Regions from separate parts of the Homo sapiens genome. Here regions 1 and 3 are each linked to region 2. Evidence: promoter capture Hi-C in human tissues and cell types (Jung and others, 2019). All regions are on one chromosome and are shown on one strand. Each heading gives the region's core, a stretch centred on a gene start or on the middle of the fragment in contact. The rest is flanking DNA. Distances are from core to core; before and after follow the strand shown. Region 1 holds the start of RPL7L1 (ribosomal protein L7 like 1). Region 2 holds the start of MRPS10 (mitochondrial ribosomal protein S10). Region 3 has its middle 4.7 kb from the start of PEX39.

The links. Contacts are between HindIII fragments. The study calls those that stand out against the background at their distance.
Region 1: a contact is called between the fragment with the promoter of RPL7L1 here and the fragment with the promoter of MRPS10 in region 2, in 1 of the 25 tissues and cell types used here (IMR-90 fibroblasts).
Region 3: a fragment that was not itself captured here is called in contact with the fragment with the promoter of MRPS10 in region 2 in 1 of the 25 tissues and cell types used here (lymphoblastoid cells).

The regions. Positions count from the first base shown.
Region 1 is chr6:42,878,005-42,882,150 of GRCh38, forward strand. It overlaps RPL7L1 (ribosomal protein L7 like 1), which reads left to right and starts at 1,612. Exons shown (of 6, transcript NM_001366481.3): 1 at 1,612-1,947; 2 at 2,857-2,962. The coding sequence starts at 1,907. RefSeq lists enhancers at 624-1,581, 1,324-1,793, 1,582-2,538, 1,814-1,873. The HindIII fragment of the contact is 12,927 bases long and covers 1-4,146 here.
Region 2 is chr6:42,215,775-42,219,641 of GRCh38, forward strand. It overlaps MRPS10 (mitochondrial ribosomal protein S10), which reads right to left and starts at 2,087. Exons shown (of 7, transcript NM_018141.4): 1 at 2,028-2,087. The coding sequence starts at 2,075. RefSeq lists enhancers at 199-801, 802-1,403, 1,975-2,254. The HindIII fragment of the contact is 13,512 bases long and covers 1-3,867 here.
Region 3 is chr6:42,893,610-42,897,479 of GRCh38, forward strand. No RefSeq gene overlaps it. Among named protein-coding and RNA genes, the nearest start is that of PEX39, 4.7 kb to the left of the region's middle. The HindIII fragment of the contact is 6,847 bases long and covers 1-3,870 here.

The sequences.
Region 1 (4,146 bases), core at 362-2,861, 660 kb after region 2:
TCAGTGATGAGTAAGCAGTCATGGTTCCTGCCCCCCCTAGTATCATGTGGAAGAAATATTAAAAATATAATAATGTCCTGAGGGAAATCAGACACTACTCTAGAGTCTTACTAGTCAGCCCATAGACCAGTAGCACCAGCGTCACTCTGAAGCCTGTTAAAAATGCAGAATATTGGCCAGGTGCGGTGGCTCACGCCTGTAATCCCAGCACTTTGGGAGGCCGAGGCGGGCGGATCACGAGGTCAGGAGATCGAGACCATCCTGGCTAACAAGGTGAAATCTCTACTAAAAATTCAAAAAATTAGCCAGGCGTGGTGGCGGGCGCCTGTAGTCCCAGCTACTCGGGAGGCTGAGGCAGGAGAATGGCGTGAACCCGGGAGGCGGAGCTTGCAGTGAGCCAAGATCGCGCCACTGCACTCCAGCCTGGGCGACAGAGCGAGACGCCATCTCAAAAAAAAAAAAAAAAAAAAAGCAGAATATCAGCTCCCCACCCGGCCTCCTGAATAAAAATCTGTATTTTAGTAAAATCTTCAGGTGACTCCTATTCACTATTAATGCTTGAGAAGCGCTGCTCTGGAGGTTTCCAGAGATGATAAGACTTGTGTTGTTTTTCAGGATTTTTAATTTTAAAAAAAATTTATTTCTTGTTTTTTTTGAGACTGTCTCGCTCTGTCGCCCAGGCTGGAGTGCAAGTGGCACAAACTCGGCTCACGCAGCCTCCGCCTTCTGGGACTTCAGGCGCGAGCCACCACGCCCAGCTAATTTTTTGTATTTTTAGTAGAGACGGGGTTTCACCATCTTAGCCATGCTGGTCTCCAACTCCTGACCTCAAGTGATCCACCTGCCTTGGCCTCCCAAAGTGCTGGGATTACAGGTGAAAGCCACCGGCCCGACCTACTGTTTTTCAGGATTCTATATAGACTGGGAGGGAAGAACGCAAATTCCGGGCGATGAGAGCTGCATAAGGGTTTTATTTTTATTCTTTTTTTTTCTTTTCTTTTCTTTTTGTTTTTTTGAGACGGAGTCTTGCTCTGTCGCCCAGGCTGGTGGGCAGTGGCGCGATCTCGGCTCACTGTAACCTCCGCCCAAGACGGGGTTTCGCCGTGTTGGCCAGGCTGATCTCGAACTCCTGACCTCAGGTGATCCTCCCGTCTCGGCCTCCCTCCCAAAGTGCTGGGATTACAGGCGTGAGCCACCGCGCCCGGCCTGTGTAACGGTTTTAGACGGGAAGGAAGCATGTTGTAGTTTTCGGTCCAGCAGTAATAGTAACAAACATAGTGCTGACAGACACTGCTAAACGCTTTATCTAATCTCCTGTAATCCTCGTAACGCCATTAGGTAGACCTATTATTACTGTACACCCATTTTATGGGTAATGAAGCCGCAGTATAGAGGGGTTAAATAACGTGTTCAAGGACGCATCGACGGGGCCAAGCAGACGGAATTGCAGCTACCTGCTTTACCACTCTAAGTCCTCAACAAACACTTCCACCTACACGTGAGAGCCAAAGCCATAGCCTCCAAGTTTTTCCACAGAGCGAAAATGTTTCGCGGAGTTTGCCTGTCTTCCTCCCCAGAGACGCAGCACAGCCGCGCCGGAAGTGCGGCGCCGTAGCTAGGAGCGGACGCCATAGGTGCATTGTGGGAAGCACTTTGCTGTCCACAGCCAGGCCGCTTGTGATGAAACTGTAACTTACAAGAAAAGGGCTGGGTTTTGAAAATAACACAGGCTCTAAAAACCCTAAGAAGCGGTGCAACTTTTGGCAGGAATCGGGGTTAGCGGGACCTCAAGGGCTCACTGCGGCTAAGTGAACGCTGACTGGTCCTCCAGCGTGAGCTAGAACAGACGTCTCTATGGTCAAGTAAACAGAGCGTGTGCTGTCTTCCCCATGTGGTGGGGTTGCGCATGATCAGTAGCTGCACCACTAGAAAGATGGCGGAGCAAGAGTGAGTGTTTGGGGCTTTGAATATCTGGAGTGGGGTCTTGAGTATCCGGTGCCATCCACGGTGTTTATGCCTTGGTGGCGGATTCCTGTGGGCTCTAGGAATAGAAAAGGCCACAGTTTACAAAGGGTGGGGGTGAGGAGGAGTAGCGCTGTGGCGGAGGAGGGAGGGGACCGCGGTCAAGTTCGGGTTATCTGGAGAGGCGAGGATTGACTTCAGGCAGCGGGCTGGAGTGCCACAGTTGAATTCACCCAGCCCGACAAGTGTTAACTCTGCAGATAGGCCTGCCCCCGCCCCAACCCCATAGATTCGTCGCTGCTAGTGCCTATGAAGAACTGTGGCCGTGAAAACCCTGTTAACTTATACGAACCCAGAGGCTAAAGGATTCATTATTTTCCGAGGCTTTGGGGATGAGTGACTATTAGGGATGGATTTATGAGGCCTGGAGTCAGAAACCGCAGGTTTCAGGGGAATCTTTCTTCAGATACTTGAAAACAGTAATGTTCCCTAAAGCCCAGGATATTGAATTGGTTTGGAAATCCATTGAATGTTCGTTTTCTTTTTTGTTGTTGTTTTTGTTTTGAGACGGAGTCTTGCTCTGTCCCCCAGGCTGGAGCGCAGTGTCGGGATCTCGGCTCGGTGCAACCTCCGCCTCCCGGGTTCAAGCGATTCTCCTGCCTCAGTCTCCCGAGTAGCTGGGATTACAGGCGTGCGCCACCACGCCCAGCTGATTTTTTATTTTTAGTAGAAACGGGGGTTTCACCATGTTGGTCAGGCTGGTCTCGAACTCCTGACCTCAGGTAATCCACCCACCTCGGCCTCCCAGAGTGCTGGGATTACAGGCTTGAGCCACCGAGCCCGGCCAAGTGTTCTTTTCTAAATGTTATCTCTGATCTCAATTTTCTGCATCAGGCAAAGAAAAATCCCTTTGGTTCCAGAAAATCTCCTGAAAAAGAGGAAGGCTTATCAAGCCCTCAAAGCCACCCAGGCAAAGCAGGCACTTTTGGCAAAGAAGGAGGTAATGGTGGGGAACCAAGAGAAAGTAATTAGAATTTTTATTTGGTGAGTTTTATCCCGCATGTGTTGGACTACATTTGGTATTGACGAGCTCCCCCCAACGGTTTGACAGACCAGGTATAGTTGTCTCTCAGTGTCCTTAAGGGGTTGGTTCCAGGACTCCCACAGATGCCTAAATCTCAGACTGCTGAAGTCCCTTATATAAAATGGTTGTAGTAGGCCGGGCGCGGTGGCTCACGCCTGTAATCCCTGCACTTTGGGAGGCCGAGGCGGGCGTATCACGAGGTCAGGAGATCGAGACCATCCTGGCTAACACGGTGAAACCCCGTCTCTACTAAAAATATAAAAAATTAGCCGGGCATGGTGGCAGGCTCCTGTAGTCCCAGCTACTCGGGAGGCCGAGGCAGGAGAATGGCGTGAACTCGGGAGGTGGAGGTTGCAGTGAGCCAAGTTCGTGCCACTGTACTCCAGCCTGGGCGACAGAGCGAGACACTCTCTCAAAAAATAAATAAATAAATAAATAACTGGTTGTAGTATTTGCATATAATCTATACTCCTTCCGCCTATGTAGTTTAAATCCTCTCTGGATTGCTTAATAGCTTTATTTATTTATTTATTTATTTTGAGGCAAGAGTCTCACTCTTGCCTAGAGTGGAGTGCAGTGGCACAATCTCGACTCACTGCAACCTCTGCCTACTGGGCTCAAGCAATTCTCGTGCCTCAGCCAACCAAGTAGCTAGGATTACAAGCATGCGCCACCACACCTGGCTAATTTTTTTTTTAACTTAATTTAATTTTGTTTTGTTTTTTGAGACAGAGACTCACTCTGTCACCCAGGCTGGAGTGCAGTGATGCGATCTTGGCTTACCACAACCTCCGCCGCCTCCCGGGTTCAAGCGATTCTCCTGCCTCAGCCTCCCAAGTAGCTGGGATTACAAGGATGTGCCACCATGCCCTGCTAATTTTTGTATTTTTAGTAGAGACCGGGTTTCACCATGTTGGCCAGGCTGGTGTCCAACTCATGGACTCAAGTGATCTGCCCACCTCGGCCTCCCAAAGTGCTGCGATTACTGATGTCAGCCACCCCACCCGGCCACCGGCTGATTTTTGTATTTTTAGTAGAGATGTTTTGACATGTTGGCCATGCTGGTCTCAAACTCCCGGCCTCAAGTGATCACCCACCGG
Region 2 (3,867 bases), core at 837-3,336:
GATAGAGACAAATCATAACTCTATAATCTTCTTTGCACCAAAGGGGAAAAGGAAAAAGGAAATCAGGTACAACACAAAGTGGTAAGAGGTATGTGCCATTCTTCAGACAAAATTGCATAGAAAATTCCCTCCCAACAATTACACCAGTGACCCCACAATCGAGTTGTGCAAGAGGAGCAAGAATATTACACTTCTCAGTCACATTCTCCCACTATAAACCTCTGCTTTTTCTTTTCTTTTTTTTTTCTTTTCTTTTTTTTTTTTTTTTTGAGAGAGTCTTGCTCTGTCGCCCAGGCTGGAGTACAGTGGAGCATTCTCAGCTCACTGAAACCTCCGCCTCCTGGGTTCAAGCAAGTCTCCTGCCTTAGCCTCCTGAGTAGGTGGGATTACAGGGGCCCACCGCCACACTCAGCTAATTTTTGTATTTTTAGTAGAGACGGAGTTTTGCCATGTTAGCCAGGATGGTCTTGATCTCCTGATCTCGTGATCCGCCCACCTCGGCCTCCCAAAGTGTAGGGATTACAGGCGTGAGCCACCGTGCCCGGCCAAGAAGTTTTTAAATTGCATTTTTTCTTTGTATTTCTTGAGAGAGAGAGAGAGAGAGAGAGAGAGTGTGTGTGTGTGTGTGTGTGTGTGTGTTGGGGGAGTGGTGGTTTGGAAGGGAGGGCTGTCTGGGTAAATTTGTCTTAATAAAGCAGTTCAAAAATTTCAATCTCTAATACCATCTGACTTTTCTCAAGAACAGTGGTTTTCAGGCCGGGTGCGGTGGCTCAAGGCTGTAATCCCAGCACTTTGGGAGGCCGAGGCTGCCGGATCACTTGAGGTCAGGAGTTCGAGACCAGCCTGACCGACATGGTGAAACCCCGTCTCTGCTAAACATACAAATACTAGCTGGGCATGGTGACGCATGACTGTAATTCCAGCTGCTCGGGAGGCTGAGGTAGGAGAATCACTTGAACCCGGGAGGTGGAGGCTGTAGTGAGCCGAGATCGTGCCATTGCGCTCCAGCTTGGGCGACAAGAGCGAAACTCCGTCTCCAAACAAAAACAAAAACAAAAACGGTGGTCTCAAAGTGTAGTCTGAGGACGTCTGTGGGGTCTGAGACACTTTCAGGGGATCCGGGAAATCAAAACTATTTTCATAAAACCAAAACGTCATTTACAACTTTTCCACTCATTCTCTTACCAGTGTACAGTGAAGTTTTCCCGTGACAGCCTGAGGTGTGATATAGGAAAAGATTAAATACAGAAGCAGATTTGAATCTAGCTTTTATTAAGCCAGAAATTAAAGAGAGCTGCAAAAATGTAAAACATTGCTGCTCCTTACTCAGTTTGTTCAGAAAATATATTTTTCATAAAGTATTAGTTGTAACATGTAATGAGTTAGTGTTACTTTTAAATCAATATATATTCTTAAGTTTTATTTTCCAAAAAGCTAAATATAGATAGCAAAAACCCACAAAAACAAAAGCTCTCTGGAGTCCTGAACTCCGAAAGTGTAAAGTGGTCCCAAGGCCAAAAAGCAGGAGAACCGCTGCTGAAAAGTTTTTGCTCCTCCTGCAAATAACTGCGCAGAGGATATCTAACCCACTTCTCTGGCTTGAGACCTTCATCTAAATTTGGATGCCAGGAAAGCATCTCAATTTAGTTCCATGGGAAGAGTCTGATATCTTGCACCAGCTCAGCCTCTAATTTTCGCGAGGCAAATTTCCTGTCTTCTCTGAGCCTCAGTTTATTTTGCAAGCGTGAAAGGAGGGGTTTTGGAACATACGAAGTACAAAATCTTTTCCAGCTCTGACATTCTACGATTATTCTTGTTCCTATCTTTGCCTGGACTCACTAACTTATATTTAATTCCATGAGAGAATTCTGATAAAACTAGCCCCTTTCTCGTCACTTTCCTGTAAACGGCGCGAGGTGAGGGATAAATATCAGGAAAAATCCTGATGGGCAGAGCGGCTGGTGGCAGGGAAACTTAAAAGCAACTATCCCGGTCAGCCCTCCTAGTCTCCCTAGCCAATCCAGTACCTGCCAGAGGCGCCGGCACACAGCACCGAACGCTGTCCGCGCCGCCATCTTGCCGGTCCCGACCTCTCAGGATTGCTTCCGGGGTTACAGCGGCGTCCTCAGACCATAGAGTTCCGCAAAAGAAGAGAGTACATCCTCATGTTCCGGCGCTGGAACAACCATAGAGACATGAACCTGTGCTTTTTGGGGGCGGGACAGTTGGCTGGCCAGGCTGGTTTGGCTCCGGCCAGTGTCTGGATAGTTACCAAGCCCTATTAATGTTTTCACCTTTAAATTGTTGTGTGTGTATACACACACACACACACACACATTTATTTATTTACTTATTTTTTCCTTTTAGAGACTGAGTCTCACTCGGCTGCCCAGGCTGGAGTGCAGTGGCACAGTCATAGCTCACTGCAGCCTCAAACTCCTGCCTCAAGTGATCCTCCTGCCTCAGCCTCCCAAGTAGCTGGACTACAAGTGCGTGCCACCACAGCCGACTAATTTTTTGTTTTTTTTTTTAATTTTCTTGTAGAGACAGGGTCTCATTATATTGCTCTCGTTATTTTGTGGGCTGGTCTTGAATTCCTGTCCTCAAGTGATCCTCTGGCCTTGGCCTCCCAAAGGACTGAGATTACAGGCATGAACCACAAAGCCCGGACTGAAACTAGTGTATTGACACCATTTACTTCAGTACTGGAATAATGGGTGATTTATTTTCCTATTTTTGCATTTTTCAATTTTTTTTGCATTTTTCAAAATTTTAACAAAATCTATATTTAACAAGAAAAAGAAAAGTCGGCCACTACCATTGGGTCCAGTTGCCACTCAGTTACCTTATTGCAGCGGCTTTCTAATTATGGTTCTTAATCCTTTCTTCCTTCCCCACACCAATTGGAATTCCTGTGCTCCAACCATTTTGTATACCGCTGTCCTACTGATCTTTCTAAATTATTCATTTCCTTATGTTACTCTAGTATTTAGGAATTTACAATGGCTAGCTTCACTTACAACAAGCCAAAGTGTTTTGTCTAATTATTAATGTCCACCATAATTTTTTCCAAGTAAAAAGATGTATAACTGGGATTTGCTATAATAAAAACTTCTTCAGGCTGGGTGCGGTGGCTCACGCCTGTAATCCCAGCACTTTGGGAGGCTGAGGTGGGCGGATCACCTGAGGTCAGGAGTTCGAGACCAGCCTGGCCAACATGGTGAAACCCCATCTCTACTAAAAATACAAAAAATTAGTGGGGTGTCATCGTTGTGTGCCTGTAGTCCCAGCTACTCAGGAGGCTGAGGCACGAGAATTGCTTGAACCCGGGAAGTGGAGGTTGCAGTGAGGCAAGATCGTGCCACTGCACTCCAGCCTGGGAGACACAATGAGACTCTGTCTAAAAAAAAAAAAAAAAAAAGAAAAGAAAAGAAAAGGCCAGGTGCAGTGGCTCGGCTCACACCTGTAATTCCAGCACTCAGCACTTTGGGAGGCCAAGGCGGGTGGATCACCTGACGTCAGAAGTTCAAGATCAGCCTGGCCAACATGGCAAAACCCTGTCTCTACTAAAAATACAAAGTCAGGCATGGTGGTGTGCACCTGTAATCCCAGCTATTTGGGAGGCTGAGGCAGGAGAATCTCTTGAACCCGGGAGGCAGAGAGTGCAGTGAGCCGAGATTGAGATTGTACCACTGCACTCCAGTCTAGGGAACAGAGCGAGACTCCGTCTCCAAAAAAAAAACTTATTCCATTTGTGCAAATCTTTAAAAATTTATTTTTATTTTTCCTTTTACTTTCTCCTCATCTTAAAGTCTGCTTCTATAATACTATATTGTCTTTTTTGTGTGTGTGTGTGAGACAGTGTCT
Region 3 (3,870 bases), core at 818-3,317, 680 kb after region 2:
GAGCTTGAGAAGCCAGTCTGGAGGAAACTGACCATATTGAATGTTGTATAATAAAGAATTTTGAAGGGGTGGCCTGCCCCTCCACACCTGCGGGTATTTCTCGTCAGGTGGGACGAGGGACTAAAAAAAGAAATAAGACACAGAGACAAAGTATAGAGAAAGAACACTGGGCCCAGGAGACCAGCGCTCAGCGTACGGAGGACCTGCACTGGCCCCAGTCTCTGAGTTCCCTCAGCATTTACTGATTATTATTTTCACTGTCTCAGCAAGGGGAATGCAGCAGGAGAACAGGGTGATAGCGGGGAGAAGGTCAGCAAGAAAACATGTGAGCAAAGGAATCTGTGTCACAAATAAGTTCAAGGGAAGGTACTATGCCTGGATGTGCACATAGGCCAGATATATGCTTCTCTCCACCCAAACATCTCAGTGTAGTAAAGAATAACACAGCAGTATTGCCACCAGCATATCTCGCCTCCAGCCACAGGGCGGTTTTCTCCTATCTCAGAATAGAACGAATGTACAATCGGGTATTATACTGAGACATTCCGTTCTCAGGGGCATGCAGGAGACAGAGGCCTTCCTCTTATCTCAACCGCAAGAGGCCTTCCTCTTTTACTAATCCTCCTCAGCACAGACCCTTCACGGGTGTCGGGCTGGGGGATGGTCAGGTCTTTCCCGTCCCACGAGGCCATACCTCAGGCTGTCTCAGTGGGGAGAAACCTTGGACAATACCTGGCTTTCCTGGGCAGAGGTCCCTGTGGCTTTCTGCAGTGCATTGTGCCCCTGGTTAATCGAGAATGGAGAATGGCGATGACTTTTACCAAGCATACTGCCTGTAAACATTTTGTTAACAAGGCACATCCTGCACAGCCCTAGATCCCTTAAACCTTGATTCCATACAACACATATTTCCGTGAGCACAAGGTTGGGGCTAAAGTTACATATTAACAGCATCTCAAGGCAAAACAATTGTTCAGGGTACAGATCAAAATGGAGTTTCTTATGTCTTCCTTTTCTATGTAGACACAGTAACAGTCGGATCTCTCTTTTCCCTACATATCCCCCTTTTTGACAAAACTGCCATCGTCGTTATGGCCCGTTCTTGCTGGTCGCTGTCTCTTCGGAGCTGGTGGATACACCTGTGGACTAACAACAGACAGAACAGGCATACAAGGATTAATATGAAATTTACAATAGTGGAACTTCTGATGGTTTTTAACCAAGTGACAGTGTTAAGATTTGTGAGGCCATCAGTAGCTTTCACGATTGCCTCAGTTCCCAAATTTAAATGGGCTTTCGATGCCTCAAAATTTTGTTATTTTAATTTTGAAATATCTAAAGTAAGATTATCTTCTCTTCCCTGTAGATGGCATCTAACCATGTCCCAGTGATGCTCAGACTCATTATAGGCTTGGGGTGTAATACAAAAATCTGACATATTCCAGTCACACTGTAACTGAAAAAGATATTCCAAGCTCATGAGCCTATTTCCCAGCCAAATGACAGTTTGTCTAAGATCATTAATTTCGTTTGCCAATTTTTGATTTATTTGGGTCTGAGAATTCCACAATTTTGAGGAATTCTTTCGCCAATCATTTACATATTCTGCAGTTTGAACAGAGGAGTGTAAAGCAATTCCAGCAGCTGCAGCAGTAGCTGTGACTGCAATAAGGCCCATAATCACTGCAATCAAAGTAAAAATCTTTTGGATCTAGTTAGAATTCCTTTTAATACTTCCGTTAAAATATGGAAGATGGCGAAGCCTCCCACTGTCGGTCCATGGACACAGGGATCCGCACACCTTCTCTTGCCCTCACTAGCAGAATATGGCGCTGCCAATTAAAAGTCAAATCAATGCAAGTAAACAATCTACAGTTTTCACAGGTTATAGTTTGGGAATCTGGTTTAATAACTATGTTTTCTATAACTAGCATATAAGGGGGTTTTACACAACTTTGTAAAGGAATTGTCAGATTGGAATTTAGGTTGATAGTATAATATGGCTTACGATTTCTTGTTTCTGTAGCTTGATTTCCAGACCAAATTCTAATGTAGTGCGAGGCCACAGTAAGCTTCCATAATTTTGGATGTTTAGGACCAGTAACAGGACTAACTAACTTTGGTCGAGGTGATGAAATTCCCTTTTCACCCCATTTCCAGGGATAGGGTGATTCTAGCCTTCTATAAACCTGGTCCAGCCTTTCAATTAAATCACTATCATAGGCCGGATTAATGGGCCAGATGGATGGGGCCTGTAAACATGAGTGAGTCTGGCCCATACAATTATATATAATATAATTGTATATAATATAATATAATATATAACTATTATATAATATTATAGTAGTTCCAAATTCATTGTTTTGTAATACCACCGCAGTATTAGCCACACATTCTTCCCAAACTAAGGCTTCTGGGCTTTTTGATTCTTTGGGAATTTCCTTGGGGCAAGGCTTCCCCTTAGGCCCAGATTTTAATGATCTTTGATAAGAAGCGTCCTCTAAATTATTTATCTGTGGCCCGAGTGACATTCCACTTACCATGTGATAAGTAAATTTACTGGTGGCACTGACGGTAGGTACTTCTACCAACCAGTTTTGGGTTGTAGGCATTAAACATCCTGGTGCCTTCCCTAGGCAAATAGGAGGATAATGATACCCAGTGGAAACATTTATCATCATTCCTTCTTCTTTAGGTTGGGCAGGGCAACAATCGTCTGTGGGGCCTGGTACCCATGCCCTATTATTAACATATACTTCAACAGGATTATCCATCCATGTGACTGCCCAAATTAAGGGTGGGAAAGGCACATAGGCACAGTAAGTATAATTAGTTGCAGCTGCTCCTGCAGACATGGGGAGACTTACTACCGTTGATATAATAATCAAAGCTGTAAGCAGTATATTCTCTGGAGTTCACATTACCCTTGTGTTCTTTAGGCTTTTTTTAGCTAACTGTGTCAGCTTCTTTAATTGGGCCCAAGTCGGTGGCTCCGCTTCCTTGGTGGATGGCAACTTCATCTGTTCTTCTGATATCACCATTTTATTTACCTGGCGAGTCGATGATGCTCAATTGAGGGTTTTTTGTCTCCGCAGAGGCGCTTTTCTTCGCATCTCCAAGGGGTTCATTGTAGAACTTTAAATTTCTAGTGGGTATCCAACCAGGAAGCTGATTTTCTCCTTGTGAAACACAAGCAAAGCCTCTCTCCCATGTTATCACCTTCCCTATTTCCCATGTCTTATTTTTCTTGTCTTTCCACCAAATCAGTTTTCCTTCATGTGGGCTATTCTTTTTACCAGTAAAATGTTGTTCTGCAGAAGTAGTGGTTTGATTTCTATAAATGTTTAAAAAATTTAAAGTATAGAGTGCTAGATTAAGTTGCATCTGGGGAGTGTTATACTCCTTACTGTCTTTTTTCCTTTTTTTGTTTAACCAATTGAGCTTTGAGTGTTCTATCAGTTTTTTCAATTATGGCCTGTCCTTGGGAATTATAAGGGATTCCTGTTGTATGTGTAATTTTCCACTGATTTAAGAATTTTTGAAATGTTTTACTACAGTATCCTGGCCCATTATCCGTTTTAATTTTTTCTGGAACTCCCATGACAGCAAAACAAGATAATAAATGTCTTTTAACATGGGAAGTATTTTCTCCTGTCTGGCAGTTTGCCCTTACAAAATGTGAATAAGCATCAACTGTCACATGGAGAAATGACAATTTTCCAACTGAAGGTACATGTGTGACATCCATTTGCCATAACGCATTAGGACACAGACCTCTGGGATTAACTCCTGCCTCCTGAGTGGGCAGGTGTGGAATCTGACACTGGGTGTAATGTTGTACAATATTTTTTGCCTGTTTCCATGTGATGT